2 separate regions of the Homo sapiens genome follow, and region 2 is linked to region 1. The links are contacts of gene promoters, found by promoter capture Hi-C in blood cells and fetal thymus (Javierre and others, 2016). All regions are on one chromosome and are shown on one strand. The core of a region is centred on a gene start or on the middle of the fragment in contact, and the rest is flanking DNA. Distances in the headings are between cores, read along the strand shown. Region 1 holds the start of IFTAP (intraflagellar transport associated protein). Region 2 holds the start of PRR5L (proline rich 5 like).

Region 1 (4,223 bases), core at 1-2,500:
TCTGGGGTCTCCATCTCACGAATTTCTATCTTGTTGTCCTCTAAAGAGATGATGTTGCAGATCATTCTTTTTTGATTTTCAAGCTGATAGCCACCAACAATAACAAATTCATCATTGTTAGTTTGAGTCAGGATTGCACTGGAGACAGAGATTCCTCCTGGCAAGACTGTGCAATTCACAGCTGGGCTACCCAGGGGAAGATCAACCCTTATTCTGTACAGGTTGGCAGGCCGGATATTATTGGCAAGTGAATGTCCTCCTAAAATATAGATGGTGTCATTTTTGGCAATAGAGACATGAAAAGATAGCCCATCCTGAAGTTCTGGAAGAATGTATGATGTAGCACACCCAAATTCAAAATCCACCAGGAAAACACAGGGCAGGCAGTCAGCTACACTATTCCATTTTTCTGTGGTTCTGTGGGTAGAAGGCATGTATGAGCGTCCTCCAAAGAGAACACCCATACTTTTCCCTCGGCTGTACACCACATTAATGGAATGACCATATCTGGCTTCAGGAACATCTCCTACCAAGTCTTTCTCTGTGCAGCGAAAAGTAACCTTTTTGTTGTTCTTGCAAACAATAGACATGACATAAATCTTATCTGAAACCTCATTGTTTGGTGTTTTCCCTCCATGGATGATGTATTGATGCTTTTCAGACTCCAAGCTGCCTTTGAATGTGCAAGTGGCTGGGTAGCGAAGAGGAGGGAGGTAGCAGGAATCCTTAGAGAAAATTGTAGGCTTCAGTTTGACATGGTTATGCTTTACATCCAGATGGAAAACTCCAGTGGGGCAGGATCTTTTGGGCCAGCCTTTTTGTCCAAAGAAGAAAACTTGTCCATCAAAATTCATCAGTGAGAAGCCTGGCTGAATTAAGGCTATGTTATTACTGACTGTTACCATCTGCAGAGACATAGTTTCTGATGGTACGTAGATTTTTGTCTGAAAGAATTATAAAATAAAATGACTTAGAGATCGCTTCATATAATCATCGTATTTAGATTCCTTCACATGTGAATAGCATTTTTTTAAGTCCTCCCACACGCTTGCAGTGGGACTGAATGAGGAAAATCCAAGGAGTTAGGTCAGTAAAGAGCCACAGAACCTTTACTGCCATTCCATCCAAGGAGCTGGGACATGTTTTAGCCACGGACTATATGCTCCCTAGGATTTCTGGGAATTGTAGTCCTTTTCCGTAAAGAGTCACCATGCGTCAGCTGAAAGAACCACATTTCCCAAGAATCCGTTCTCTCTGGGATGTGTAGCTTTGGAAATCTGTCTTTGTTGCTCTGGGAGAGGGGACTCCTGGAATGTGTCTGTGAATAAAGACTAGCCGAAGGTGCGAAGTGACTAGACGGGAGCAAAGGAGGAAAACTAGGGAATGGGAGGTGAGAGTGGCTGACACCGACCCAACGTCCGGGTTGCCGGAAGGCTGCAGCGCCCGGAGCGGTGTCGGGCAAACCGCTACCCTGGTATTGCTGGAGCCTCTCCTGGGGACTTTTGAACAGGTGACCCGATAGGAAGCACAACTGCTTCTGTTGGAGTGCGGTTACCTGGAGACCGCAGTCTGAAGGGACTCCCGGCAGAGATGTCGTTACGGTGTCCTGCCTGTCTGGATGCTTAGGAGCGCGACTCAAAACTACACCCCTGACGACCCTGGAGGTGCTTGGGGCGGGAGGTTGAAGGGGGCACCGAGGTTACAAAAGCCGTGACTGTCTTACAGAACCGAAAGATGGATCTTTGAATCCCTAGAGTGCAGGGGAGACATTGCCTGTTAAAGATGTTTACCACTTCTACATTTAGTAATAGAAATACAGTTATTAGGTTTTAACGAGTGCACTTTGAAGGTCCTTTGTTTTCTTCACTGTTTTTACTCCTGTTTTTAGGGTTCTTTTAGGGAAGCAGAGAAGGTTCCTAAACACATCTTCTTTTCATCTTCATTCTAGGAAAATAGAGTTAGTGGCTTTTTCACATCTTTCCAGTCCAAGAACTTTTGGGTAATTCTTTAATAATTCTGTAGTAAGTAAGCAGGGACTAAGCATAGAAGTGTTTGAATTATTCAGAATTTCATACTTGTGTTACAACAAAAAGAATATTTACTAGATGAAGGAAGCTTGATAAATTTCTATTTTATTATTGTTTACCTTAGAGAGTTGTGGAATACACTCCGTGTTTGCAGTGTGATGTCCTGTGCACCAAATGTTAAAGGAAACAAAACATAGCACAGATTTCTTGACTTTTAAGAGTTAATTCTTAATATGCTTCAAAAGCAGTATAAACAATGGCTGAGTGTGGACTCTGAATGCTTACTGGCTGGATTCAAATCCTGGCTCTGCCACTAACTACATGACTTTGGGCAAGTTATGTAACCTCTGTGTGCCTCAGTTTCCTCATCTGAAAACTGAGATAATAATTTTACCAACCTCATATATTGATGTCAGTTATGATTAATAGTTGAATATACGTAAAGTACTTAGAACAGGGATTTGCATATAGTAGACGATAGTTATGATTATTTTAAAATTTACCAAAAATAAGGTCTAGTGCATACGCACCTGCCAGTAATGGCAGTTGATAAGGTTGGAGAGGATGAGAAGGGGCTTTAGGATATGGGAATCAGGTCAGTGGGTATAGACAGATAAACATTTGAACTAAAAGAATTGGATAAACATATATGATGAGGGTGCTGGTAGTAGTTAATTTATTAACAGAAGATAGTTAATATTTTATTCTTCTTGTCACCCTTTGTCTAACTGGGGATAATCTTGGTATATATTCACTGGGCTGTTTTGAGAAATAAATGGGATAGCACGTGTAAATCACATAGAACAGTGCCTGGCACATAAACACTCAATAAATGTTAATTGATACTATAATTTATCTAATTTATCTTTATTCCTCCTGCAAAGATTCCTTGGACTATTTAGAATCTCTGGTCACTCTAATGAGATGGTAGTGTTTTTTTTTTGTTTTTTTTTTTTTTTGCTTTAAAGAACTTCTGTAGATCAGCTGTAATTTACTGCTAAATAATCTCTTGTAGTTATTATTTTCAGTCTACTTGGGAGACTCGTAAGGGGGTGATCTTTCAACAATTATCTGGTGGGTTATTAAAGCAGGTGAGGAAATGGTGTCTCAGAAGGATTATTATCAAAGTTATGAAAACAAGCCTGTCTCCCTCAGTTGTATATTCAGCAAACTGCCCTGCTTATAAAATAATCTAGGCAGTGTTTTATTTATATCATGGCCTACCCAAGCCTACATGAGGGAAGGCATCTGAGCAACTATGAAAAATGCTATTCATAGAAACTAAAAGGAGACATTATTGACCCTCACTTCAGAAAACTGTAGGTGATTACACTCAGCCTGAGTGATTATGATCAGAGAGTTGTCCCATTTTGGGTGGGGGGAACACCAAAGCCAAGGCCTGCTTGTTTCAAACACCTGTGATGACTGTTATTGAGATACAAGGCAAGCCATACAGTGGTAATGGATTCCAGATCCAAAGGGATTTTTCAAGAACAGTTGTTTTAAAGCAATGTTTTTATTGTCGCCTCTTGGTTTCATTTTAAGGTTGCTGTAGGAATTGTGGCTTCTCGTAAGTGAAAACATGATTATTGTAGATTACACAGAAACATTTTCTTGGGCAAGACATAAGGAGGATTGTCCATTTTTGTAGCTTAGTCTAGGCCCCTAAAGATTTTTGAAACAGGGCTTTTGACCTGTTTTCCCTTTGATGCTCTGCTTTTGGCTCATTTCATAATTTCAAGGCCCTAAAAACAGTGGTAAAGTTTCTTATTGCTAAGATGAATTACCTCCTCTTGTAACATGGTTCAAGTGTGAGTAATTAATTTTTAGATTACTCACTTTAACCAGATGATGTATGCATTTAAAGAATAAACAGGAACATTGAAAGTGTTTTCACATGATTTTGCCACATTTGGTTTTTGAAATTTTGCTTTATCAACTTGAATATATTTTTCACTGGAGTAGACCATTGTATCTCTTCCATAGTTTCAATATGACTGTATTAGTCACACCTTGGTTTTTAAAAAGAGTTTTTAAATGATTATACTATATCTAAAATAACCTACTGAAGTCTTTTCCTTTTAATAGGCTACATAAAAACAGGCAGATTTAAAAGAATAAGATCCTGTTCTTCAGCTGAGGGAGGCTTCAAGGTCAACACATTAAAGATTCTTTGTAAAGGACAGAAATATAGGA
Region 2 (7,097 bases), core at 232-2,731, 300 kb before region 1:
TTCTGGCCTTCAAACACTATTAAGATTATCAATGTTTGTTGTTTTAAGCTATGAAGCTTTGAAGTAATTTGTTATACAGCAATAGTAACTAATGCATGGTGGCAGCAAAGCATAGGGGTTTTAGAATTCAACCTGAGTTGGAATCCTAATTCTACACATTATTAACTTTTCCGTGTACAAATTCTTGAACTTCTCTGGGCCTCAGTTTCCACCTCTGTAAAATGGTGTTCATCACACCCATCTAGTTCAGAGAGCAGAGCTGAGCGACAGGAGCTGCTTCAGTGGGAGGATTCCCAGCTCTCCTTACTCTCGCGGGCTGGTATGATATGAATGGCACCATGTCATCCCATTTTGGTAGGGCTGCCCAGATTGCCAATGCCATGTTGCATGTAAAGGTTTGTCTGTGGTCTGCAGAATGTCCAGCAATTTCTAAACCATAAACATTTTCATGGGTGGGAACAAAACAGAATGTCGGAGTTCATTTCTGTGATTTGGTCCCATTGCCTGGTTTTCATTAGGCCAAACCTAATTTCTTTCCAATTCTGAATATAGGAATCAGTGCTGACTTTCATTTATTTAATAAACTTGTTATGTGCCCGGCTCTGTTCTAAGCCCTTACATTTACTGATTAATTTACTTCCCATTCCTATCCTATGATATTATATATATACGTATGTATATACATACACACACATATGTACACACACACATAAGTACATATACATATATAAGCACACACACTGTATTGTTTCCATTTTACATATGGAGAAACAGACATAGGCAGATTAAGTAGTCTGAGGTCACACAGCTAAGTAGTGGCAAAGCCCAGATTCAAATATGGCCAGTCTGGCTCCAGATTCTGCACTGTTAACCGCCAAGCTGTACATGTCTCCTTGTTGTCCCACAGCTGTAAATTTGTGTTTCTTCTCTTTGCATGTCTGACTACCTTCCTCAGGCAGCAAGAACAATCTAAGAGTGTTCCTGTACAATCAGTCTGGTGATGGTGAGAAACAATATAATGAGTGAGTGGAAGGGCTACCTTGGGCTTTGGGAAAAGACCTAGGTTCAGTTTCCAACTCCTGTGTACTGTTAGCAAATTACTTCCCCTCTTGGAACCTCAATTTCATCATCCGTAAAATGGGAACAATAATAAAAATACCTTTTGGCCATTAGGGGGAGCTCAAGGATGACTTATACCCCAAAAGGGGAAGGATTGCTTATGTGGATTCTCAGTTCTAGTCATTGGCAACGCTAAAGGGCAGAGCTTTCCCCTGTTGTGGGCAAGGGTTTGCACGAGGGGGACTGGCCATCCCAGTTTTCCCAGGGATGAGGGGTTTCCTTGGATGCAGGACTTTCAGGGCTAGCGCTGGGACAGTTCTGGACAAACCAGGCCAGTTAGTCACCCAAGTTTGAGCCCTGAGCCTTGGGGGAAACCAGCCTTTTGGAACACTTGCCCTGATTTCTCCAGTGGGGCAGATATGAAGCAAGGGATATGGACACAGAATTTATTAGTAGAAAATGATTAAGGGCAGCAATCTTAGTATTGAGGGTTTTTTTATAGTAGCTTTATTGAAATAGAATTAACATTCACATACCATACAATTTATCCATTTGAAGTGTAAAATTCGATGAATTTTAGTATACTCACAGAGTTGTCCAACTATCACCACAATTAATTTTAGAACATGTTCATCATCCCCAAAAGAAACAGCATATCCTTTAGCTATCAACACCCACCTCTGCCCCCAATTCTCCCCATCACACCCAGCCCTAGGCAATCGCTAATCTGCTTTCTGTCTCTATGGTTTTGCCTTCTGGACATTTCCCATGAATTGGATCATATGATACGGTTTCTCCTCTTATACTAAGTAAAGGAAACGAGTACAAAAGACCACATATCATATGTTTTGTACTCGTTTCCTCTACTTAGCATAAGAGGAGAAACTTCTTCAAGGTTCGTTCATGTTATAGCCTGTATCGGTACTTCATTCGTTTTTTGCTGAATAATATTTTTTTGTACAGATATACCATAGTTTGTTCATTCATCAGTTGTAGACATTTGAGTTGTTTCTACTTTTTAGCTGTTGTGAGTAATGCTGCCATGAGCAATCATGTACAAAGTTTTTGTGTGAACATGTGTTTCATTTCTCTTGGAGTATACACTGAAGAGTGGAATAGTGGAGTTTCTGGGCCATATGATTACTCTGTGTTTAACCTTTTGAGGAAGTGTAAGACCATTTTCCAAAGTGACTGCACCATTTTACAGTCCCCAGAAGCAATGTATAAGGGTTTCAATTTCTCCACATCTGCACCAACATTTGTTTAAAAAAAAAAAGAGACAGAGAGATGGGGGTCTCTGCTCTTTTACCCAGGCTGGAGTACAGTGGTGTAATCATGGCTCACTGTAGCCTCAAACTCCTGGGCTCAACTGATCTTCCCACTTCAGCCTCCTGAGTAGCTGGGACTACAAGCATGCACAACCATACCCAGCTAATTTGATTTTATTTGTTTTAGAGACAAAAAATATGTTTTGTCTCTAAAACATATGTTTGCTATGTTGCTCAGGCTGGTCTCAAACTCCTGGCCTCAAACGATCCTCCTGCCTCAGCCTTCTGAGTAGCTGGGATTACAGATGGGAGCCACTGCATCTGGCTCTGCCTTTTTGATTATAGTGATCCTAGTGGGTATGAAGTAGTATCTCATTGTGAGCCGTCTTGTTTTGAAGTTGCATTGGTATATCAAACACATTTTGTAACTGGTTCTGTCTTTTTGATTATAGCAATCTTAGCGGGTATGAAGTGGTATCTCATTGTGAGCAGTCTTGTTTTTAAGGTGCATTTGCATAGCAAACACATTTTGTCACTTACGCTACTTTGGTTCATTTGAGGTAACTGATGAAGGTTATGGAAGCTTAAATAAACTCCTATTCTCCCCTTTGGTTTCACTACTAAGTCCTGGCTGCCTTCTTTGTCAGAGGAATGCCTGCAGGAGGTGGATTAGGCCCAGGGTCCTGCAGTCCTTTAAGGAGAGCCCTTGCCACCCTCCTGTTATTCCCCTAGTTTCCCTTTTCCTCACCTTTGTCTCAGTCCAGAGATGAGGGTGGGTTGCAGGGGGAAAGGGCTGATCAATCTTTTTGACTTTATGCCCCCTTTGTGGCTTTGACGTGGCCTGATCAGCTCACCAGTCGTCTTAGTCCATATGGGCTAATATAACAAAATACCATAAACTGGGTGGCTTTATCAACAACAGAAATGTGTTGCTCATAGTTCTGGAGGCTGGGAAGTCCAAGACCAAGGCATTGGCAGATTCTATGTTTGATGAGGACGGTTTCCTGGTTCACAGATGGTGTCTTCTCACTGTGTCCTCAAATGGTGGCTGTGGGCAAGGGAGCTCTCTTGGGCCTCTTTATAAGGGCACTAATCCCATTCATGAGGGCTCCACACTCATGACCTAATCACCCCCCATAGGTCCCACCTCCAAATACCATCACCTGGGGGTGAAGATTTCAGCATATGAATTTGTGGGGGACGCATACACTCAGACCGTAGCGCAAGTTGGGGACAAAAGCTCTGAGTGTCAGCAGGGTTGCACTGGCTTGGAAATGCTGGAAATCTGGAAATTTCCAGATCAGGCATCACAAACTGCATGATCTAGGGCTCACATTGCATTAACAATGTTGTGTTTGGTCCACAGTGTTTCAAAATTGGAAAACTCGACATAAAAAATCCAGCCTTCTGGCTTTTCTTTAAAAATGTGCAGGCCCAACCATGCTGTTTCCACCTTTCTGCATTGCAGTATTTGGCTGAGGCTGAGCCCTGGCTGCCCTCTGAAGACTGGTGTGAGCTTTCAAATCCCCACAGTTCCCGCCACACACTGTTGCATCACAGTGGGCCCTCTCCACACATTTGTCACCTGTCTCATACTTGAGAATATTTATTAGTGCCCAATTCCTTCAGGGACCTAACAGGGTGAACTTAGGCCATAGTAGGTAACAGGGCTAAATACAGACACTTGGGATCCTGGCTTTCCAGCCATCCCCATACCATCTCCTCATGAGTACAAGCAAGTTTCAGGTGTAATGTGGGCATCTAATTTGTGATTTGTGGTTCTTGATCACTTTTATGGGCCAGCCACTGTTCTAAGAGTTTTGCATATATTAATTCATTTAATCCTCCTAGGAACCCAATCATAATCCCGGTTTACAGATGGGAAAACTAACACCCAGAGAAAACACTTGCTCACAGTCCATGGGTAATAGTTGCAGAGTCAGAATTTGAAGTCAGGAGCGAATGAGGTCATTTTGCAAGGTTGCTCATGACCTAGTGTCTGGTTCATTATGGGGGTTCAGTGGGTGCAAGCTTTATAATATTCATCTAGTCTTGCCAACTGCTGCTAACGTGCTGCATGGCTGAGGTTTAGTCCCAGCCAGATGTCCCATCACAAAAGTTAGGCATTGAAGTGGATGACATTTGTGTTTAGAGAAATGATATGTCTCATTCTTTTCAGCTCTAACTTGGGGTAAGTTTCTGAAAGCAAGTAAGAGAAAAGGAGAGGGACATTTGTGATCTCTCATGTATAGAAGACTAACAAAGAGGCAGGTGGTCACACCTGAAGGCACGTCCCCTGACCCTTATTACATAATGCCATGGGCTAAATGTCCAAAATTCCTCTCCCAGCTCTGATTGGCCTGGCTACTATGATGAGTGAAGTCCACCAGGGAAGACACTGTGGCCTCGTTTCTCATCCTCCTGTCCCCAGGAGTAACACAGAAGCAGCTAGTAACACAACAGCATTGTCCTCACATACACAGGCCTGCTTTGTTTCCCCACCACACAGAGCAGCCGCTGTAACAATGGCCCCGAATGACACTTTACCCTCCTTTCTCCAATGTTGCACTTGTTTTTTTAGTCTGGAATGGGCTAAACAATGATTTCCTGCAGGGGGTATCAGCTTTTTATATTTTCTGCCTGCTTCTCTGTCAGTCTTCAGGCCCCAGGTCAGTGAGTGGCAAGCCAGGCCCAGAGATCTCTGCGCCCGTTGGAACATCCCCTTCTCGGGAGGCTGGAAGGCCATGGTCATTCACCTCTCCCCAGCAAGGTGGGACCTGCCCTGGAAGAAGAAACCAGACCAGGTAACACAAGAGAGACAATGAGAGCTTGGGGCTAGGGGGTGGGGTTGCAGGGGATGGCTGAGTATCCAGCCCAAGGAGGATGGGTTTCTGGCTTCAAGACATCCGATTTTCTTGAAAGCCACCATCTGCTGTTAAATAAATAATGAAAAGCAACAGAGGTCAAGTTCAGCAGCCTCCCAGTTAGAAAAATACCCTCTGTCTGTCTGGCCCTGTTCAGTGCCTCTGATATCTCTGGGTGACCAGGGTCTTCATGGCCCATGTAGATTTACTGAGGTGGCTGTTGCCTTAATAATAGCTGCTAGTACTAAGCTCTTTCTCTATGTATTGCATATGTATACCTATTACTGTATGTCTCTCATTGAATGAATAGTAATGATAGCAAACCCTTATACAACATGCCTCAGATTCTTGCTTCTTTCAAACCCAGGGAGTCGGGTTCTAGAATCTGCGCTTTTCGTCATCATGCCCCTTGTAAAGCATTTTTTTTTACAACATCCTGCTAATAAACCAAGGTCATCACAATATTTCACTTTGAGAGGCAATGATATATGATGATAGCTATGTGTATTGTGAGTCCTTTGCCCTGTGCCAGGCAGCATTCTAACTGTTTTGCAGCTATTTCATCAGATAGATACTTTATGATCTCTATTTTATGGATGAGGAAATTGAAGTACGGATAATTTAAGTCATTCACCCGGGGTCACACAGTTGTTAAATGGCAGAGCCTGGATTTGAATTCAGTTTTCTCTTAAGTAGTATGGGAATCTTAGACCCGCCCAGCCCTGCTGGTCTGGAGTTATTCTGCTTCTCTAGGTCATGGTGTATAGAGGGTGACATTCAGTTTCTGGCTTCATAGAACATCTGCACCCAAGTTGACAGCTTAAGGAATTTTTTCGTTTGTTTATTTTAAATGATTTTTCTATTGGCATCAGCTTTTGTCTTGCTTGAAGAAGATGGAATTGCTCAATGACGACAGTGAAGGAATTTGAAAGGGTAAGAATTGCTCAATGAGTGGTATCTCTTTTTTGGCCAGAGACCAGGCTAAGTTGCCTCATATGTAAGAGAACATACGTCAAATACACAGGACTCATGGTATATTATGGAAGCAAACTTTATTTTTGCCTATCATTGTCCCTAATTTTTTTCAGCAGGTCCTCCCTCTTCCCTTGCCCTGGGATGAAAATTAAGGTAGGTCCACAACTCTTATGGGCCCCCTTCAGGAATCAAAAGTTCTTAAGTCGCTTTTAGTTCCAGCACAGCCTCATTCAGCAATTGGGATGTCCAGTCCCAGGGAATCAGCCAGATCTTTGAATTTGGTTCCCAGTGGAGACTTTTCTCCCTCCTCCAGTGGGGCCTGCAGCTTGGAAAGGGGGTCTGTGGTTGGCTTCTCATTTCCCACGTTAAGCTTCCATCCTTCTCTCCTCTGGCTTACTGATGATTCTGACTCCTGGCAGGGGGAAGGGGAAAAGAGAAGAGGCAGGAAAGGAGCTGGAAGTCCGTACTTGGTTAATGCTGTGGCAAGCTGGCATTTCAGTGGCAGGTTCTGGTGGGTGTGTAAACCTAGTTCTTTCTCTCTAGGCACAATCTTGTGGATACTTCAGAGAGCACCATTATTTCTCATCTTTGGGGATCTCTGAGTTGCTGGTCCCTTGAAGCTGGTTGCCTAATAAGACTCCTTCCTTAGTTCCCTGGCATCTAAGCAGTGCCGTATTAGTTTGCTGGGACTGCCATGACAAAATATCACAGACTGAGGGGCTTAAACCAGCAGTCCCCAATTTTTTTGGTACCAGAGACCAGTTTTGTAGATGACACTTTTTTCCACAGACCAGGGTAGGGATGGTTTCAGGATGATTCAAGTGCATTACATTTATTGAGAACCTTATTTATATTATTATTACATTGTAATATATAATGAAATAATTACACAATTCACCACAGTGTAGAATCAGTGGGAGCCCTAAACTTG

What was found. Contacts are between HindIII fragments. The CHiCAGO score rates a contact against its expected background, and 5 or more counts as called.
Region 2: a fragment that was not itself captured here is called in contact with the fragment with the promoter of IFTAP in region 1 in 2 of 17 cell types (fetal thymus and monocytes); the score reaches 8.6 in fetal thymus.

The regions. Positions count from the first base shown.
Region 1 is chr11:36,593,252-36,597,474 of GRCh38, forward strand. IFTAP (intraflagellar transport associated protein) reads left to right here and starts at 1,251. Exons shown (of 6, transcript NM_138787.4): 1 at 1,251-1,341. RAG2 (recombination activating 2) reads right to left here. Exons shown (of 2, transcript NM_000536.4): 2 at 1-944. The coding sequence starts at 917. RefSeq lists an enhancer at 1,158-1,297. The HindIII fragment of the contact is 5,310 bases long and covers 1-2,113 here.
Region 2 is chr11:36,291,308-36,298,404 of GRCh38, forward strand. PRR5L (proline rich 5 like) reads left to right here and starts at 4,981. Exons shown (of 9, transcript NM_001160167.2): 1 at 4,981-5,131. The HindIII fragment of the contact is 2,854 bases long and covers 55-2,908 here.